Linked DNA regions of Homo sapiens: all the other regions are linked to region 3. Evidence: promoter capture Hi-C in 16 types of primary human blood cells and fetal thymus (Javierre and others, 2016). All regions are on one chromosome and are shown on one strand. Each heading gives the region's core, a stretch centred on a gene start or on the middle of the fragment in contact. The rest is flanking DNA. Distances are from core to core; before and after follow the strand shown. Region 1 overlaps ZFAND2B (zinc finger AN1-type containing 2B). Region 2 overlaps STK16 (serine/threonine kinase 16). Region 3 holds the start of CTDSP1 (CTD small phosphatase 1).

The links. Contacts are between HindIII fragments. The CHiCAGO score rates a contact against its expected background, and 5 or more counts as called.
Region 1: a fragment that was not itself captured here is called in contact with the fragment with the promoter of CTDSP1 in region 3 in 1 of 17 cell types (non-activated CD4 T cells); the score reaches 5.3 in non-activated CD4 T cells.
Region 2: a contact is called between a fragment that was not itself captured here and the fragment with the promoter of CTDSP1 in region 3, in 6 of 17 cell types (non-activated CD4 T cells, activated CD4 T cells, naive CD8 T cells and 3 more). The highest score is 9.0, in non-activated CD4 T cells.

The regions. Positions count from the first base shown.
Region 1 is chr2:219,207,198-219,211,037 of GRCh38, forward strand. ZFAND2B (zinc finger AN1-type containing 2B) reads left to right here. Exons shown (of 9, transcript NM_138802.3): 2 at 130-224; 3 at 451-582; 4 at 690-841; 5 at 1,059-1,151; 6 at 1,229-1,289; 7 at 1,375-1,442; 8 at 1,780-1,852; 9 at 2,065-2,451. The coding sequence ends at 2,109. It overlaps ABCB6 (ATP binding cassette subfamily B member 6 (LAN blood group)), which reads right to left. Exons shown (of 19, transcript NM_005689.4): 15 at 3,737-3,840; 16 at 3,514-3,626; 17 at 3,184-3,278; 18 at 3,033-3,101; 19 at 2,575-2,849. The coding sequence ends at 2,741. Among named protein-coding and RNA genes, the nearest start is that of ZFAND2B, 2.3 kb to the left of the region's middle. RefSeq lists an enhancer at 544-1,043. The HindIII fragment of the contact is 8,332 bases long and covers 1-3,840 here.
Region 2 is chr2:219,249,491-219,253,353 of GRCh38, forward strand. STK16 (serine/threonine kinase 16) reads left to right here. Exons shown (of 8, transcript NM_001330213.2): 8 at 1-847. TUBA4A (tubulin alpha 4a) reads right to left here. Exons shown (of 4, transcript NM_006000.3): 2 at 2,518-2,740; 3 at 2,075-2,223; 4 at 220-1,833. The coding sequence ends at 862. TUBA4B (tubulin alpha 4b) reads left to right here and starts at 3,753. Exons shown (of 4, transcript NM_001355221.1): 1 at 3,753-3,863. RefSeq lists enhancers at 493-582, 623-742, 3,811-3,863. The HindIII fragment of the contact is 2,112 bases long and covers 355-2,466 here.
Region 3 is chr2:218,398,075-218,401,717 of GRCh38, forward strand. It overlaps CTDSP1 (CTD small phosphatase 1), which reads left to right and starts at 1,794. Exons shown (of 7, transcript NM_021198.3): 1 at 1,794-2,083; 2 at 3,490-3,638. The coding sequence starts at 2,017. RefSeq lists silencers at 442-711, 1,402-1,771, 1,842-1,921, 2,082-2,241. The HindIII fragment of the contact is 4,794 bases long and covers 1-3,643 here.

The DNA of each region.
Region 1 (3,840 bases), core at 354-2,853, 810 kb after region 3:
GGTAATGGGCTTGGGAAGGGGCGGTGTGTCGAAAATAGGGTGGCGTTTTCCTTCCCGAGTGGAAGACTTGAGTGAGAGAGAAGGACATCGAGGTCCCGCTGGACCTGCAATCCGACCAACTCTTTGCAGATTTTCTGCCGCTTAAGTGTGATGCCTGCTCAGGCATCTTCTGCGCAGACCATGTGGCCTACGCCCAGCATCACTGTGGATCTGCTTACCAAAAGGTGAGGGGGCGATCCTCAGGGTGAAAGCAGGCAGATGGAGAATGCGTGCAGAATCCCCCAAATCTGTGTCTCACGTTTCTTCTCCCTTTTGTCCTTCTGAGGCTGTCAGTGCTGGGAAACACTGTTTTTTTGCGTGTTTGTGGTGGGTCATATCCAAGTTCTTTCAGGACCAGAGATTTGTTGGACTGGAGTGGGCCACAGACTGACCCTTGCTCCTTGACTACAGGATATCCAGGTACCTGTGTGCCCTCTCTGTAATGTGCCTGTGCCTGTGGCCAGAGGGGAGCCCCCTGACCGTGCTGTGGGAGAGCACATTGACAGAGACTGTCGCTCTGATCCAGCACAGCAAAAACGTAAGGTAAACATTGTAGGGGTCAGCCACAACCCAGCTGGGACTACGGATGCCTGGAAACCCAAACAGCTAATCAGAGTCTCAGCAGAGACAACCTTCTCACTTCACCTCAGATCTTCACCAATAAGTGTGAACGCGCTGGCTGCCGGCAGCGAGAAATGATGAAACTGACCTGTGAACGCTGTAGCCGAAACTTCTGCATCAAGCACCGGCATCCACTGGACCATGATTGCTCTGGGGAGGGGCACCCAACCAGCCGGGCAGGGTAATGGCAGCCAAGTCCTCCACTTGCTTTTGGGAAGCATTCTTTTGGAACTGACTCAAGCTCTGTTGTTATAAATTGGGGAGCTTCAACCCTACCCTGTCGGCTAGGGGAGTCTTTTAGCTTCCTTTTCAAGTGCATGTTTTTCCAGAACTCCCCTCCTGACTTCCTGGGTAAGGCTAGTTCTTGGAGACATGCCAAAAATCTCTCTTCCCTACAGACTTGCTGCCATCTCCAGAGCACAAGCTGTGGCTTCTACAAGCACTGTCCCCAGCCCAAGTCAAACCATGCCTTCCTGTACCTCTCCCAGCAGGTAGGCCTGCCCGTTTCCCTGCTCCCCCTTTTTCCCCTTCACACCTCTGACCTCCACCTCTTCAATGTCTGTCGTAGAGCCACAACCCGATCTCCGTCCTGGACAGCCCCTCCAGTGATTGCTTTGCAGAATGGCCTGGTGAGTTGGGCAGAGGTTGGATGGACAGAAACAAACACACAGAGAGTGAAGTCCAAGGACGCTGGTCTTCTTTCTCCCTTTGTAGAGTGAGGATGAAGCTCTGCAGCGGGCCCTGGAAATGTCCCTGGCAGAAACCAAACCCCAGGTTCCAAGGTACCTTACCCTCTTGTGAAAGAGAGCGCAAGCTGTGGGCAAGGGCTTGGTCTGGAGGCAGGTAGGTGGGACCACTCTGACACAATGCAAGATAATCGCTGGCAACTTGGTCTCAAAATTAAGATGAACTATATGATCTTTGACAAGTTATTTAACCCATGGAGCCTTCATTTCCTCTATAAAACGGGGACAATACTAATACCCACCTTGTAGTGTTGCTATGAAGATTGAGATAATCCTCAGCAGTGCTCAGCACCATGAGGCCCAACACACACAGATCAGATGTTCAAATTTCAGATCTTACCATCATCCAACTTAAACTGTTTCTCCCTCCCAGTTGTCAGGAGGAAGAAGACCTAGCTTTAGCACAAGCACTGTCAGCCAGTGAGGCAGAATACCAGCGGCAGCAGGTATGAGGCTGGGCTGAAGATATATGCTGCAGTGGAAGGGAGGAAGAAGTCAGGGATGGGGGTTCTTCCTAGTGGTGCAGAGTTTTGGAATGGTGGTTATCGTCTGGTTTTCAGTATGACTCCAGCCCATGCTGAGCTCTGAAATGAGGGCTGTCCCTCATTTCCTTGACGTTGCACTGTGTCTTCCCCTCCTTCCCCTCTCTTTGCTCTAGGCCCAGAGCCGCAGCTCGAAGCCGTCCAACTGCAGCCTGTGCTAGGGCCCTGGGCTTGGGGAGGGAGGTTCACCTGAGGAGGACTGTGGCCCTCACACCTCTAGGGTACACAGGGAGAGGAGGCCCGGAGCACCCTGGAGGGCAGAGACAAGCGGGAGTGATGTGGAGGTCGCCCTGGGAGCCTCTGGAAGGCCTTGCTAGTGCTCCAGCTGCATGGAAGAGAGCGGCTAGCAACTGTTCCCTGGTTGGGCCCTCAGTGGATGCTGGCCAGGCCCTACTCTTAGCCCCTTCATCATGTCATCTCCCTTATGCTGGAGCTGCCCCGATGTGGAGTGGGCAGGAAGGGGCCTGGAAAAAATAAAGGATCTTGGCAGTTGATAAAACGTACAAGTGGTGTGTTTCTCTCTCCTCTCTAACCTCAAACAGGAAAGCCGTGTCAAGAATGCTCATCTGACTTATGGGTAGAGGCCCGCTGCAGTACCCCATCCCACAAAGCCACAGTGATCCTCGCACAGTCCACATTTTTATTTCCCCAAAAGATGTTTTTCGGAAAGGTCCCTTTCCCTTACCATAGCTAGCACCATACCCCAAGACCAGGATGAAATAAGCCAGGGAAAGGAGACACATCTTATTCCCTTCTGGGTTAGTCTTTGAGAGGGAAGTGGCCAAACTTTTGTCACCGTTCCATGGTCTGAGGCTTAGTGTCTTCAGAGGTTTCTTCCTGTCCCTGCTGCAGCTGCCACATGTCAGCATACACCCCACCTCGGGACAACAGAGCCTCGTGTCTGGGGTGAGGAGAAAAGTGTGAGTCCTAACCATTAGTTTTACCCCGAGGGTCCTTGCCACCAGCCCACAGAGAGGACGGGATGGGAAGGGAGGTCCCCTCCAGAAGCCCCTGGGACTTCATGCCCCCTTTCCTGGAGCCCCCAATTCAGAAGACCTGTCCTTTTGATCTATGTGTCTCTTACCGTCCCCTCTCCACGATGCAGCCATCCTTGATGACGAGGATCTGGTCAGCATTGACCACAGTTGAGAGCCTGAGAAGTCAAAGATCAGTCGCCTACTACCCCACCCAAAGCGGGCCACATCACCAGCCGCCCCAGGCCTGTAGTCCTGTACCTGTGTGCCACTACGATGGTGGTGCGGTTGGCACAGACTTTGGCCAGAGAAGCCTGGATGGCCCTCTCATTAGATGTATCCAGCGCTGACGTTGCCTATAGAGAGGGTCCAGGTAAAACTGCTCCTGCCACTCAAAACCCTCAATGGAAGGAGGCAGGCTGCTGGCTGAGGCCTCAAGAATACACAAGAGCCTTGTTTGGGCTTGAGAACTGGAAAGTGTGTTTTGTGAGATTTGAATTCATGGTATCTGTTCTAGGTGGGGACAGTGCCCAGGAGGAACGGCTTGAGCATACACAAGGCAGGAAGGAGGGGAGGAGACCCAGGGCGCACCTCATCCAGCAGAATGATGCCCGGAGCCTTGAGGATGGTGCGGGCAATGGCGACGCGCTGCTTCTCCCCGCCGCTCAGCTTCAGTCCCCGCTCGCCCACCTGTGTCCTGTACCCTGTGGATATTACCCACCACACGTTTCTTACGAAACGGAGGGAACAGGGGTCAGGGATTAGCAGGACAACACCAGGAGGGGAGGGGACTCTCTGCAAAGGAATCTCTCACCTTCAGGGAAAGCCATAATGGCATCATGGATGCCTGCAGCCTGAGCAGCAGCCTCCACCTCATCATTCCCAGCTGTGACACGGCCGTAACGGATATTGTCGGCG
Region 2 (3,863 bases), core at 161-2,660, 850 kb after region 3:
TCCCTGAATCACCAGGGAGGAAAGGCAAGGGCAGGGTTGGCATCTCCTGCTCTTTTGTGATCCAAGCCTCCTCCCCCGAACCATGTCTACCCCACAGTATGACATCAGCATGGGGCCTGGGGCTCCTGTTAGCAAAGTTGAAGCTTTCCCCAGGGCCCTAGCAGGAGTCTCCCACTAGCTAGCACAGAGGCTGAGGCCAGAAAGAAATCACAAACAGAGGGGAGATGACCTGACTTTTAATGGCACAGCCCCAGCTCCAGCAAAGCAGCAAGACAGGAAGCTATGCAAAGCTGCTCAGAGGTGCAGTGGCACAAACAACTCTAGGAGATCGCCTGTGTTCCCTCCCATCCCCCAAGCTTATGACGTGGCTCCATGCCCAGGAACTCTGGGCCAGCCCAGCCCCACTCCCAAACCCTCATAATGCACAGAGGAGCCTGGGCCAAGCCTTGCTTCCAGAGTTGGTAAATGTAGAGGCAGCAGGAAGAACAGGGTAGCAGTCTAACTTTCAAAGACAGAAACCACTGGATTATACTCCTACTTGGAAAGGAGCTGAAGACTCATCCTTCAACAGTTTGTGCCTGGATTTTGGTCCTCATTTCCTCCCTATACTGAGTAACCCTAGGACTTCAATTTAAAGTCCCTGGGGTTATGCTTCCTGGGCCTGGCAAGAACCCCTTTGCAGGTCTCACCTTCAGCGATGGAAGGGATAAGGGTCATGAACAGCAAACAGAGCAGCAGCAGCATGAAGGGGAAGGCAGCAGAAGCTCAAGCACTCAGAGGGAACAAGAAACCGTGCAAGGAAACTGTTTATTTCGAAAGGATTTTGCAATAAACATAGTGAATAGGCTCCAGGCAGCTGCTTTATTCTTCTCCCTCATCCTCGTCCTCATAGGAGTCGATGCCCACCTCCTCATAATCCTTCTCCAGGGCAGCCATATCCTCACGGGCCTCGGAGAACTCACCCTCCTCCATGCCCTCACCCACATACCAGTGCACAAACGCCCTCTTGGCATACATCAGGTCGAACTTGTGGTCCAGGCGGGCCCAGGCCTCGGCGATGGCGGTCGTGTTGCTCAGCATGCACACGGCACGCTGCACCTTGGCCAGGTCACCCCCAGGCACCACAGTGGGAGGCTGGTAGTTGATACCAACCTTGAAGCCTGTGGGGCACCAGTCCACAAACTGAATGCTGCGCTTGGTCTTGATGGCGGCAATGGCAGCGTTGACATCCTTGGGCACCACATCTCCACGGTACAGCAGGCAGCAGGCCATGTACTTGCCGTGCCGGGGATCACACTTTACCATCTGGTTGGCAGGCTCAAAGCAGGCATTGGTGATCTCTGCCACCGACAGCTGCTCGTGGTATGCCTTTTCTGCAGAGATGACTGGTGCATAGGTGGCCAGGGGGAAGTGGATGCGAGGGTAGGGCACCAGGTTGGTCTGGAACTCTGTCAGGTCCACATTGAGGGCCCCGTCAAAGCGCAGAGAAGCTGTGATGGAGGAGACAATTTGGCTAATGAGGCGATTGAGGTTGGTGTAGGTTGGGCGCTCGATGTCTAGGTTGCGGCGGCAGATGTCATAGATTGCTTCGTTGTCCACCATGAAGGCACAGTCTGAGTGCTCCAGGGTGGTGTGGGTGGTCAGGATAGAGTTGTAGGGCTCGACCACGGCTGTAGACACCTGGGGGGCTGGGTAGATGGAGAATTCCAGCTTGGATTTCTTGCCATAGTCAACAGAGAGCCGCTCCATCAGGAGTGAGGTGAAGCCAGAGCCAGTGCCCCCACCAAAGCTGTGGAACACCAGGAAGCCCTGAAGTCCTGTGCACTGGTCAGACTGAAAGGCAAGAACGAGAAAGAACAGTTTAGGTAGGGGAGGGGCCTGAGGGACTCTATCACCTGGCTCCATAAAGCGTAAGATACATCAGCAGTCAGGGCAAATACTGAGGATGCCATAGCAGCACCACACTCGAGACCATGTATAGTTAGAGATGACCTCCTGAAAGGATCTGAAAAAAAATATTCCTGACCATTAGCACAGTCTCAAAAGTTCCCTCCCTCCCAAGACACACTCTCACCAGCTTGCGGATCCGATCCAGCACTGGGTCAATGATCTCCTTGCCAATGGTATAGTGACCACGGGCATAGTTGTTGGCAGCATCCTCTTTCCCAGTGATGAGCTGCTCTGGGTGGAAGAGCTGTCGGTATGGGCCATTTCGGATCTCATCTGGAAGGGCAAAAACCACAAAGCTATGCTCAGCAGGGACCTTCCTCCCCCAGGGTGGTAGCTGTGGCCAGATGCATGGAAGGACTCATCCTCCTGCCAGCCTGAGATACCAGAGTGTGAGAGAAACCCAGACCAGCTGCCCAGGCCAGTCTCAGATCAGCTTGCCTTCTGCAGCTTCAAGTACGGCTAGGAATTTTCAGGGCTAGGAATGCCTGGTCTAAATACCCTCTCTCTCCAGGGAGAAGCTTTGAGTCATGCTCCACCCCCTTCAATTTTGTCCCCACTTCCTCTCACCAATGACCGTAGGCTCCAGATCCACAAAAACTGCCCGGGGTACGTGTTTTCCAGCACCAGTTTCACAGAAGAAGGTGGTGAAGGAGTCGTCCCCTCCACCAATGGTCTTGTCACTGGGCATCTGCCCATCAGGCTGAATCCCATGTTCCAAGCAATAGAGCTCCCAGCAGGCATTGCCCATCTGGACACCTGCCTGCCCCACGTGGACTGAGATGCATTCACGCTGAGGGATAGAGAGAGGGGACACAGCATGAGCCCCACATCCACAAGTCCTCACCTTGCGAGTCTCTCTTCCACCCTATCATCTACCAGCTAGGATGACTCAGTTGGCAAGAGTGGAGGGTTGGGGCTGGGCAGAGGTGAGAAGAGAGTAGCAGCCTGCCCGGGCTCCCAGGTACAGGACTCCCCACCTGGAGGCACCCAGCAATGCAGGCCAACCTCTTAGCCCACTTCTCAGTGGGGAATCTGTCAAGTGAGCACTGTGGCTCCACATGACAAAAGGTTTCCTAGAGGTATGGGTTTACAGCTAGAGGCCCCCCCCCCACTTGATTAATTATTTGCTTTGAGTATGAACAGCTAGAATTCATAGAACCCTTTCCCTCTTTCTTTCCTGTAAGCTGCAGAGGTGTCTCAGCCATCCAATCTGGCATCAACTGACCACACGCCATCAGGATGCCCTCCTCCCTCACCTTTAAATCCCATCTGGCTCTGGGGATCAATCCCATCTGGCTCCTCTCCCCACCTCCACCCCCGCACCCTGGGTGTCTTCACCACTTTCATCTCCCGTGTCAGCCCGCACGGAAATAGCGGCGGTAATGCTTGTAAGCTCAGACAGCAGGGGCCAGCAATAAGGTTTGAGGGTACTGGGGCGCTCACTGCCTTAGGCTCCGTCCCTGTCAGCCCGAAATTAACCCCTAAAGCACTAAAGTCCGGCAGGGCCCGCGCGCTCTTCCCACACCGAAATGGCGGGGTGACGGTTTCCAAATACCCAGAAAGGAAGTGGAACCTGCGGTGAGGCCCCAGAGGTGACCCGCCTTGTCCCGGGCAGGATGGGCGCCATCCTGCAGCCCAGCCCTACATCCGCTCTCCCTCTGGAGTCTTTACAGTTATTTCCCAGCCCAAAGCGGGGATTGGGTTTCGGCCCCCGCTCCTGGGCTATAAATACCACCCCCTACATGCACCTCTCTCCCCTCCCCCCAACCTGGCCTCGGCCCGCGCAGTGCTCAGCGCCAGCTGTCTCTGCCCATCCGCGCACCCGGGCTTCGGCTGGAGAGGGCCAGCTCGCTTCAGGAGGCCGAACCCCGTTCCCACCAACCCTCTCAGCTCAGACGCGGGGTGCTGAGTCA
Region 3 (3,643 bases), core at 544-3,043:
AACCCAGGCCAAGGGCGAGGCCACGACTCCACTCAGTCCCTCGCCACACGCTTCCTTTTGGGGTCATGAGGGCCCCGCATCCGGAGATAAAGCCGAGGCCCCACCCAGGGGGCCGGACCGCAGGGGAGACAGATGTCCCGCTCCCAGGCTGGAATCCCGCCTTTGCCCTTGCCGGTAGACCCGAAGCACGTCGCTTCCTTTCTTGAAACTCAGTTTCCTCATCTGTGAAATGGGTTAAGAAGGAGGCCGTTCTAAGGGGTAAATGAGATTAGGGGGCGCAGCCAGAGCAGGCCTAGGAAAACGCCAGCAGCGTGTGGCGATCACGGTGATGAAGCGCAATGGTGGCCGCCCCGTGGGCTACCCAGGAGCAGGAGGAGGGCCGAGGGATCCAGCCCGGGGACCGGGGTATCAGTCCCCGACAGTCCCCTCCCGCCCCTACTCCCAGCCTCAGCGCACGAAGCCGCCGCGCCTTCTGGCAGACGCCGCTCCCCTCCCTTCCCCTCCCGGCCCCCGCGCGGGGCCTCCCCTCCCCGGCTCCCCCTCGGCAGGGCCTGGCGGACGTGCGCCGCGTCGCACCCGGCGGCCGGACGGGACAGGACGCGCCCGCCCCGCCCCGCCACGGAGGCCCGCGGGAGAGGGGGAGGGGAGGAAGTGCCGAGGGGTGTTTGTCGGGCTTGGCATTATTAATTTTTAAATGGTGAACTTACAAAATAGTAACGACGAGTGAAAAGAACTTCATAAACGAGGAAAAAGACCAACCCGCAGACCCACGGCGCGCACCACGGAGGGGCTTGCAGCGAGAAGACAGGGACCTCCGTTCCCAAGTGCCCAGCACTGCGCCACAGGCCGGGTGGAACGGGCCTTGAGGGCCTCTGGTTTGAGGTCCCCCACGGTCGGGCTTTGGGCCCACCGCGTGCGGCGCCGTGCTGGGCTCCTAGGATCGGCAGCGAGTCCAGTGACTCCCACCGCACCCCCAGTAATCACAGGGCGGCCGTCGACCGCGGGCAGGGGAGGGGGTCTGGGAAGGCCCCTGGAGAAGGTGGCATTTCCTCGAGGTCGGTGGAATTTGGCTACGCGAAAGGAACAGCGCGTACGAAAACTTCAGGCGGGAACGCGCGGTGGCCCGTGCGCGGCGGGTAGACGTGCGGGGCCCCGGGTGGGGCCGTGGGGAGAGGTCGGCAGGGGGCTTTCCCAGGGCAGAGAGTTAGAATTTCACGTCCTACAGACCGGGGGCACCTCGCCCTGGGGCTGCGGGGGGCGGCGACCGTCCCATTCAAGAGCGTGATTCTGAGGTTTGCACAGCTGTTTCGGGCCAGCAGAGCCTTCGCTGGCTCTTGACGTCCTTGCGAGGTGATCTCTGCGACCACCAGACAGGAGAGAAGACCCATTTTACAGATGAGGTAGTGCTATCTCCAAGTCCTCAACGAGGAAACCGAGAAGCCTCTAGTCCCGGGTCTTCAGAAAACGCAGAGGTGGAGCCGCGCCGCACTCGGGCACTCCCCGGCGTGGGCGCTCCCGGCGGGCGGGCCTTGGCCGAGGGCGCTCGGCGGCCTGGAACGGTGAGCCGGGTGCCGGGCCTGCCACGCAGCCGCAGAGACTCAGCCCCGCCGGCGGGCGGCAGGAAGGGAGGCGACGCCCCCTGGAGCGCGGCAGGAACCCGGCCCGGCCCGCCTCCCAGTCCGCCTAGCCGCGCCGGTCCCAGAAGTGGCGAAAGCCGCAGCCGAGTCCAGGTCACGCCGAAGCCGTTGCCCTTTTAAGGGGGAGCCTTGAAACGGCGCCTGGGTTCCATGTTTGCATCCGCCTCGCGGGAAGGAAACTCCATGTTGTAACAAAGTTTCCTCCGCGCCCCCTCCCTCCCCCTCCCCCCTAGAACCTGGCTCCCCTCCCCTCCGGAGCTCGCGGGGATCCCTCCCTCCCACCCCTCCCCTCCCCCCCGCGCCCCGATTCCGGCCCCAGCCGGGGGGGAGGCCGGGCGCCCGGGCCAGAGTCCGGCCGGAGCGGAGCGCGCCCGGCCCCATGGACAGCTCGGCCGTCATTACTCAGATCAGCAAGGAGGAGGCTCGGGGCCCGCTGCGGGGCAAAGGTACCGGGGCTGCGGGGAGGGGGCCGAAGCCGGGGCGCCGTGGGAGGAGAGAAGGGGCCGGGATCTTCCCCAGGGGAGCCGCCGCCGCCGCCCCGGGCGGCCGCCTTAGCTGTGCCCGAAGCTCCCAGCCCGAGAGGGAGCAGGGAGAGAGTTTGAACTCAGAGGAGGCTCAGAGACGCGGGGCGGGGCCTGGCGCCTTTGGGGCGCTCCTGTTCGCTCGAGGTGAGGAAACTGAGGCAGGAATAGAGAGGGAACTCTTCGGGGGTTTCCTGGCAGGCATTGCGTGGTGCATGGGCGCCCCCCCACCATTGGCGCCAATGGGGCTGGGAGATGGGGGAGCTGAGGAGGGCGCCTATGGGCCACCCGCTGAGACTCCGCCCCACCCCCCACCCCCACCCCCCCGGGCTGCGGTCCGGTAGGGTCTTGGGAGGGGGCGCCGAGGTGACAGCAGGCTGGGGAGGCTTGGAGGGATCTCCCGCCAACACACAGCTACGTTCCCCACAAACTTCGCGTCACGCGTGGAGGCGCCGACCCCCTCGGAGGCACAGAGAGGACGGCCGGCACTTCCAAGAGTCGCTTGGCGCCCGCGGGGAGAGTCGTGCGCCTAGTGGGCACGCACCACCCCGCAAAGCCTCGCCGCCCCGACGAGGCTGCGTCCCCCAGCGTGGCTGGGCCGGGGTGGGGGGGTCTGTCTTCTCCTTTTCCCCGTGTGGACCTCAGGATCTGGACGCTGCCCCCAGGTCTGCCCACCCTCGCCTGGGTCTGGCTGCCCCGGAACTGAGGGCAAGGTGGAAAGGCTAGTTGCAGGGGGCCGGAGGGGGGTGGGGTGGGAGGGGTATCTGTCAATCAGGCTGCTGGGCTCCAGGTCGGAGGTCTGGGCGGGGCAGGGCAAACAGATGGCCACTGGACACTGGCCCCAGGCCGCGGGACTGCACCCCTGCCTCTGGGCCCAGCCGCAGTGAGGACTTCGTACCCACGGGGGTGGAGAGGATGGAGGGAGGGCAGGGGTGGACTGCCCTGGGTCCCAGGCCCTGGCTGTCCTGAGCAGGGGTGCTCAGGTAAGGTGGGGTCAGGAGGCACCGCAATGGGGCTGATCAGCAGCAGTCATGGAGGCTGTGAGAGGCAGGGAGAGAGCACCCCAGGACCTCCTTCTCCAGGCCACGCACTCCCTATGTGGGCGCCTTAATACCTGCTAGACCTATTTGTCTGGGAGCTGCAGGAGCCTTGCAGTTGATTGTGGAGCCCTGACAGGGGCGTTTCAGAGAAAGTCAGGAGCTGCCTTCGTGTGTCTGGATGAAGGGGCCACGGCAAGATCCTCCTGGCTCAGGGGTTCACACCTGGGCACACATGCAGGATTCTGCAGGCCAGTGTGCACCGAGCCTCCAACTTGTGCCTCCCTACTTCAGGTGACCAGAAGTCAGCAGCTTCCCAGAAGCCCCGAAGCCGGGGCATCCTCCACTCACTCTTCTGCTGTGTCTGCCGGGATGATGGGGAGGCCCTGCCTGCTCACAGCGGGGCGCCCCTGCTTGTGGAGGAGAATGGCGCCATCCCTAAGGTGCG